Regions from separate parts of the Homo sapiens genome. Here region 2 is linked to region 1. Evidence: promoter capture Hi-C in human tissues and cell types (Jung and others, 2019). All regions are on one chromosome and are shown on one strand. Each heading gives the region's core, a stretch centred on a gene start or on the middle of the fragment in contact. The rest is flanking DNA. Distances are from core to core; before and after follow the strand shown. Region 1 holds the start of ENPP1 (ectonucleotide pyrophosphatase/phosphodiesterase 1). Region 2 overlaps ENPP3 (ectonucleotide pyrophosphatase/phosphodiesterase 3).

Region 1 (4,164 bases), core at 685-3,184:
TCCTACTTGTGGAAGTAAGTCCTAGGACACTTCCATGTCAAATGCCCAGAGTAGCATCATCACACAGAATGCTGTTTGACCAGTTGACTGCAGGTCTCAAAGACTGGACAGCTTATTCCAAAACTAGACCTTTGCTGATATCTGTTGTGGATGTATAAGTAAATGAGCAAGAAAAATTTAAAACCTGAATTTTGCAATTGGAAAACCTGTAAAGGTTTATAGGCATGTAGAAATGGTTTTACACAAGAGTTACACACTGATTCCATATACAATTATCGACTACCTCATCGTGTGTGAAACACCTCAAGGTATTAATACTAAACAATTTAAGTGATCAGGTTGTAAAAGCTAAGGTCTTCCATTAACAAAATTTTTAAAAGGTGACTCAAGAGACTAAGTTCTCATCAATATTGTGTTATTATAGACTCAAAACAGTGTTACAAGATGCAAAATTTTATCTTGAGATGCAAACATCATGTGGCTTGGGGTACTTATTCTGTGAAACTAAGGCTTCTTTTTAAGTACTAAGCATACGGCACCATCTCTTAAGTCTAGGAAGATTGATTCCTCAAAGTATTATAGCATCTCCATGATGTCCCAAATATAGTGAAAATGGAAATGCATACAAAATGAAAGGAGACTTGAAAAATTAGAAATTTTTCTACAAAGCATTATTCAATCATATGTAAGGGGATATATTTTAGGGTACACTATACATAGAAATCTGTGATTTCCATATAATACAATAAAAATGATTCTATTTCCTTGCTGTTTTCAATTTACTTCCCTACCTACATTCTTCAGCTTGATTTTCACAATAATCCCATGCAATGCACAAGGGAGTTGATGTTGTCCCATTTTCACACATTAGAAATTGAGGTTTAGGGACAGTTACGCAAGGCCTCAGCAAATAATAACAGCCAGGAATCCAGGCCTTCTCTCAATCAGCACTTCCCACCATGAATTCAGAATAAAAACCAACCCCCACATTTCATGAAGTTGACTGTGGGTCCTGCAAATGTCATAGCAAAATAGCAGAGGAGTAATAGGTAGCTTTTGTTAGCAACACAAACCGTGTAGCCTCTGGTTAGAAGAGTGGGCAAAGAATCATAAAGGTTTCTTCAGTCACATAATGTGAACATCCATGGAATTTCTGAGCACCTGCAAGGAAATTCCAAAACGGAGCGAAAGGGAAAAAGTGTTCCGTAGAGTTCCTAATAAAACTTAAAGAGCTCCGCTAACTCTTCAACTGCAATCAGTTAACCCAAGTGAAGTCATGTATACTGCGCCCAGAGCCCCCTAAAAGAAGCAACACATTGATGCACCTTCTTAAGACCAACAACTTTCGCGTTTGACATTTTTCTCCTCTAAAAACCCGTACTCTCCTGGGGCAGGGGGTCGAGTATTTCTAAGGATGACCGTTTTGAACAGCCTGCTTTCACAGGCATCCATAATTCAAGTGAGAGTGAACCATCCTGCCCTGGCAAGGTACCTGGCAGGGGCGGCTGTGTAGGGCACTTGCAAAGGCTGCGGAGGAGAGCGCGCGGGCGAAGAAGCACTCCCGGACCATGCCTCTCTCCGGTGCCCGGTGCTGACTGCGCTGAGAGCGCAGGAGCTCGGCGCCGCCCTCCCCGTACTCCCAGCCCTCCCGGGCGCCGGGGCCTGGCCGCGGACCTACCAGCGAGAGTACTTTATAGGTGTTGGGGTCCTTGGCAGTGCGGGCGCGCGCCGCCTTCTCCAGCGGCTCCTCCCCCACGTCCATAGGGGCCAGCAAGGACGCGGCCGCCTGCGGGTCCCCGGGCGCCTCGGCAGCGTGGCTGCGGCCCCGATCGCGGCCGTTCCCCGCCGGGCCCTCCCGGGGAGCGCGCCCGCCCTCGCCGCCGCGGCTCCCGCCCCCCGCGCAGCCGTCGCGCTCCATCGTGGCCCCGGCCGCTCCGGCCCCGCTGCCCGGCCGCGCCTTTAATAGGCCCCGCGCCGCCCGCCCCGCCCCGCCCCTCCCCGCCGCGCCCGCCCCTCGCGGTCAGATCCTTGGCTCCCCGCCCTACACCCGGCTCTCGCAGTCAGGGCAAAGCGACTCAACGCCCCGGATTATTTGGCTTCCTGTCTGATTTCGGGCACTCTGTGTGTCGGTTATTTTGGGTCCCTTACGTGGGCGTGTCTTAAACTTCCCCCCAAGCCGTCCCCTCCCCGCGCCCCGGCCACCCTCCCGACACTTGCAGGAATCGCCCTGCGTGGCCTCGCGGCGCGGGCTGGGCTGGAATTGCAGCGTGTGGTCTGCAGAGGGCATGAGATCATGGGGCCCCAAAATAGAGCGGGGAGGAGGAGAAGGATGCAGCCGCCGATGCCGGTCCGGCTTCTCAAAGGCGGGAGAGAGTGGAGTCTTGGGGTCGACCTGTGAGTTTCTGGATGGAAATGCAAATGAACCATGGAGGAAGGCGACTTTCTGTTTCTCCCCCTCTGCGCCCCGTCCCCCACTACCTACGGTACTCTGAGAGAGAAATCGTCCACTTAAAATACGTGGGTTCACATGTACTGAACACACGTAAGGGATATTTCGATTCCCACGGTTTTATGTGGTTTCTGGAGTCTTCTCGCTATTGTTTGTATGTATATTTGCTTATTTTTCTAGACTTTCTGTATTGAAGGTTTCAGGAGTTGGCGTTGCCCTCTCCTGAGGTTGACACTGATACCTAGCTATATCAAAAGTGTTAATGCAATCTGAAATACTTTGATAAGCCTTATTTTTCAACTAGGACGCTAACAGTGAGCTGATTCTTGGTGGGTTTTGTTTTACCTTTGATTCTGGAACTTGTACATTTTCTGGCTCATCACTTAGCAAAATCACCAGTGTGTAGTGAAGTGAGACAGAGGGAAACCAGTGACTTCGAACTACTTTGCAATACCCAGGACTGACTTCAGGTACCAAGGAAAACAATTAATTTTCAATACATTTTGAATACATGAATATATACAAGTGTTTACAAATGAGAATGAATGTTTAACAAATATAAAATGCATGTTATCCCTTTAAAATAGTCAACTTGGGATGCTCTTCATTTATACTGACTCATCCATCCACCCATCCATTTATTCATCAAGTAATGAATCCTTCAACTCAATCTTTTGGCCTCCAACTATGCATACCATATAAAAAATGAATTAAAATGTATCTTTCCTTAAGTGTGGTGGAAGCGGGGGTGGGGGGGTAGGACCAACTCGTAAACAAAATAATTAAAACCTAAGTCATATATGCAGAATAGAGTCACACATAGGATATTGATACAGGAGATAGAAATTATTTAGGCAGATAGTATGAGCAAAAGAGCCCTCGGCAGAACTTACCTTCTAACAAAAAGCAGCCCAAGAAATCACTTCCTTTCTAACAAAGAGCAACCTGGAAGATTGGGCTGCAAACATAGGTAAGGAAACTGGAAGCTTGCACGGGAGATGCCGGCAGCGGCACAGACAGAAGGGGCTACTGGGGCCAGGCATGTCCACCATGGGGGTTCCACCTCCCCTCTTTTTTACCACATGCACAGTAAGAAGGAAATAAGCAACACGGAGTAGCTACCTGCCTATATAGTAGAAGATTGGGGCCGGGGCTGCCAGACACTTAAGCCCTATGCAGATGACACACCTGGTCCTAACCGGGTTTTCATGCCATATGCACGAAACCGGGTTTTCCCTCCTTATGTAGATCAGACACCGCCTCCCCACTAGCTCATCTATAAAAACCCCTGCATTTCACCACGTATTGCAACCCATTTTTTGGGACCCCTCTCTGTAGCAGAGCTATTCTCCTCCTTTTGCCTATTAAAAATTCTGCTCCAAACCTCACCCTTTGTGTGTGTCCACATATTTGATCTTTGTGGCCGTGAGACCAAGAACCTCGGATGTCACCATAGACAACAAAGCTACTTCAATATTATGAGAGCTTAGTAGAAAGGACAGTTGACATCTGGAAGAAGTAAAAGCCTTCCCTCAAAGCATTATTGAACTTTTTTAAAAAGTTACCTTTGAGTCAGCTCACAAACCACCCAAGAGAAACAGGTTTTCACTGTTTCATAATCACACATATTTTTCTGCCCCAAACTTGGCTCCAAATTTTCCTTTGACTCTTTCCAAAAATCAGATTCAAGGACAAAGATTTGCTCCACTGAGACT
Region 2 (4,164 bases), core at 809-3,308, 83 kb after region 1:
TTCTTATATGCAATGCAGATATATTGTTCCATCTACAACTTTGTTATTTTGTCATACATTAATGTTTATGTAGTCTAATCAATTTCCTCTGCATTTTTAATGTTGTTCTTCTTGTCTCCTGAGAAAGCCTTCTCTATCACAAGATCATAAAGATATGCACAAAGGGAATATGGACTTGCGGTTCCTATTTAGGTCTACAAATCCACCAGAAATTTAATTTTGTGTGTGGTGTGAGGTAGGGATCTACTGTTTTCTTCCTGAAGGGTAGTTGACTGTCCTGGTACTACTTAGTGCAAGAGAATATGCCAGACAGTGAAGAGGGAAGGGGCTTTAAACAAGTGGACCTCAACCTCAGCCTGGAGATCTGTGACATAATGCATTTGTCCCATGTAAGTCTAGTCTGACTTACTGGAGTGCCAGATCCTTCAGAGAAGAACTATGCCTATTCACCTTGTATATTTGGTGCCTACTATAACACACAACAAATAGTAAAGTACTTGTTAAATAATCAAATAAATACAAAGCCCTTTATAATCTAGTTATCATCACCTTCTACATGCACCCATGATGTACATGGGGAATCTTAAATGAATAGTATTCCTCTGTACTTCCTGTTGCTTCTGTTTAAAATGTCCTTTTCTACCTGCCTTACCAATTGGCCAATTGGCCTGTAAACATTTTCCATTTTCTCCAGGTAAAACACAATGTGTTCCTCTTTTGCACCCGTGTAGCACCTATAACAACCTTTATCTAATACTTGCACATTGTCTTGCAAGCTACAGGCCAGTGAGTTCCCTCCCTTTGAATCTCTGCTGCAAAACAAAATTCAACTCTTAGAATATGAAAGGATTATAAATATTTCTTGCCTGCATGGATCAATGGACTCAGGAACTTACCAACTGGGGGACTGTGTATGAACTCCACATGGGCATCCTCATAGCTTTTCCAAATCCACTGACATATTCCCTGTGGTAAAGGAGACAGTGGTCCACGTTCTTCTGCAGTACCCTAGGCCTCCCAAATGGCAAATTTACTTTCACTGTTGCTGTTACTAAAATTAAAATAACATAAAATAAAAAGGTTCATGAAATTAGCAAATGCTTCTTTGCATGTAATAACTACCCATATAATAACTACCACTCTCTTATGGCTTATTATATGACAAGTACTCTAACAAATATTTTACATATTTAACCTCTTTCAATTCTTACAACAATCCAATGTATAATTATTAAAAATAATAATAATAATATTGGTGTTATTACTCCATTTTACAGATTATAAAACTAAGGTTTACATAAGTAAGTTGGCCAAGCAAGAGCCTAAGCAAGGATCTGAAGCCTGCCCTCTGTGATTCCTTACATTTTACAGCTCAGAGGATATACATGAAGAGGTAAAACCTTCAAAGTCAAAAGTACATACTTTGTAACAAAGATGACCTAGTCTAGTAATTGTCATAGGGAAGATGTTGGAATTTTATAAACTTATGTCTTATAATCAGAATGTTTATGTGTCTCTAAAACGTATACATTGAAATCCTAATCCCAAAGGTGATGGTATTAGGAGGTGGGACCTTTAGGAGGTGATTAAGGCATGATATAAGACCCCCATGAGCAGGATTAGGGCTTTCATCAAAGACACCCTAGGGACACCTTCACTCCTTCCACTATACGAGCTCAGAGTGAGAAGAAGGCCCTTTATGAGGAATCAGGCCATCATCAGAAACCAAATCTGCTGGCAACTTGATCTTGGGTTTCCCAGCCTCCAGAACTATGAGAAGTAAATTTCTGTTGTTTATAAGCTACCCAGTCTATGGCATCTTGTTATATTAGGTTGGAGCAAAAGTAATTGTGGTTTTTGCCATTACTTTTGAGACCAAGTCTTGCTGTGTCACCCAAGCTGGAGTGGAGTGGCATGATCTCAGCTCACTGCAACCTCCATCTCCTGGGTTCAAGTGATTCTCCTACCTCAGCCTCCTCCTGAGTAACTGGGATTACAAGGGTGCACCATCATGCCCAACTAATTTTTTTTTTTTTTTTTTTGTATTTTTAGTAGAGACGGGGTTTCACCATGTTGGCCAGGCTGGTCTTGAACTCCTCACCTCAAGTGATCTGTCTGCCTCAGCCTCCCAAAGTGCTGGGATTACAGGTGTGAGCCACCATGCCCTGCTGTTTTTTGCCATTACTTTTAATAGAAAAAAACACAATTAATTTTGCACCAACCTAATAGCAATTGGAATGGACTAAAACAACATTCTAATGTATTTATTTACTTTTACTTGCATGCTTCTTAAAAATCCATCAATTAGTGATGGATAAAAAACCTGCAGGCTATTCATGCCATGGAATAACACTTGGCAGATTATAAGATTATCAAAACAACTAGTACATTTACTAAGCTCTTAACTGTAAACCAGGCACATATATTAACTCATGTAATCTTCACAGCAACTGTATAAAGTAGGTATCCCCTTATAAGCGATGAAACTGAAACAGAGTGAGTTTAATACAAGAATACTTAAAAGATAACAGGTAATAATAATATTGCTACAGGCCAGGCACAATTGTAAATTCTTTCCATGTATTAACTTTTTAAATTTTTACAACTACATGAGGTGAGTACGGTTATTACAGATGAGAAGACTGAGGCACAGGGAGGCTAAGTGATTTGCCCCAGCTCACACAGCCAGGAAGCACCAGAGGTAGGACTCAAACCCAGGCAGCTCAGTCTGCTTACATCTAAGGAAAGGAAACAGAGGACTGCAGATGAGTCACAACCTCTTCAAGGAATTCGTTTTGTTCCTGGAACCACTGGAACTACCCCATGCTTGTACTGTTGTCATTATATCTGTTGTGAGTTTTTTTTTTTTTACCTTTTGTATATTGGCAATAAAATCTTTATGTTCAGGAACCTCTGTCAGCTTATTTTGGAGAGTCCTAAAAGGGCCACATTGTGTTTTGTTAGGTCTAAATATCAAAGACTTAACATGTTTTCTATTGACTTACTTTCTTCTTGGGTGAGATTTAGCATCTGATTCACTTGTTCCAGCTGAGTACTCTGCAAGATAATGAGGGATGGGAAAGGGGAGGAAATAAGTCAAAGCAACAATATGTGTTTTAAGGGGTAATCAAGATTGTTTCTGTAGTAATCGATTAAATGTTATACTGCCAAAGAAGCTAGCCTAACTTAAGATTCTGATTCTGCCACTATTCAGAAATATAGAGACACTACTGCTCCCTATTGTGTGTGTGTGTGTGTGTGTGTGTGTGAGAGAGAGAGAGAGAGAGAGAGAGAATTTGCAAAAAGATAATTGATAATGGGGCAAAGCATTCTGATTACTGCTGGAATCAATGACTAAGTTGGGTGACAACATCCCAGTGCTCCTTAAGCTTTAATATGCATACAATCACTTGAGGGTTTTGTTAAAATACGGATTCTGGTTCAGTAAACCTAGGGTAGGGCTTGAGATTCTGCATCTCTAACCAATTTGCAAGTGATGCAGATGGTGGTCCTGAGACCACACTCTGAATAGCAAGAGGCATTCTTTACATAGAACTTGGGGTTTGCAGCCAGATAGAACAAGCTTCTCTGGCCTCGAACAATTTATCTAACTTCTCTGAGCATGTTTTATCTCTAAAATGAGAAATAATATACCTAGTAAGTAATGTTATTATTATTTTTTAATGGCAGTTTGATTGAGGTTATCAGGAGCAGTCGGTAGGAAACCCACACCCTTACTCTGATCTTTGCTGTGGATTTGATCTTCATTGAGAAGTTTGCTAAGCTTTTGTCCTGTAAAGCCCCTTTGGTTGGTTATTTATTTCTGTGGTATAATGCTATTTTGAAGAATAGAGATTGTGATGTCTTCACCTACTTCTGACTATAAGGAAAAATTCTTACCTGAGGCAGCAGGTGTTTTTATTTAGTTCTACAAACACATTTGGAACTTGGCATCAAATGACCCTTGACATTAATTTTAGCTTTAAGGACTCCTGATAACGGGGCTCCAATTTCACTCTGAAATCCCAACCCCATCCAGGCGCTCTGATTCTCACAAGTAGGCTTGGTCCTTATATTTTGAGCTGCTGTTATGACTCCTTGCCCTTGGGGCCTCTCCTAGCACTAAAACCTCACCTTATTGAAAGTCTCCTGGGATCTGAAGTC

What was found. Contacts are between HindIII fragments. The study calls those that stand out against the background at their distance.
Region 2: a contact is called between a fragment that was not itself captured here and the fragment with the promoter of ENPP1 in region 1, in 2 of the 25 tissues and cell types used here (H1 embryonic stem cells and IMR-90 fibroblasts).

What each region holds. Positions count from the first base shown.
Region 1 is chr6:131,805,790-131,809,953 of GRCh38, reverse strand. It overlaps ENPP1 (ectonucleotide pyrophosphatase/phosphodiesterase 1), which reads right to left and starts at 1,934. Exons shown (of 25, transcript NM_006208.3): 1 at 1,679-1,934. The coding sequence starts at 1,918. The HindIII fragment of the contact is 10,154 bases long and covers 1-4,164 here.
Region 2 is chr6:131,722,933-131,727,096 of GRCh38, reverse strand. It overlaps ENPP3 (ectonucleotide pyrophosphatase/phosphodiesterase 3), which reads right to left. Exons shown (of 25, transcript NM_005021.5): 19 at 3,006-3,057; 20 at 897-1,051. Among named protein-coding and RNA genes, the nearest start is that of CTAGE9, 14 kb to the right of the region's middle. The HindIII fragment of the contact is 4,940 bases long and covers 1-4,164 here.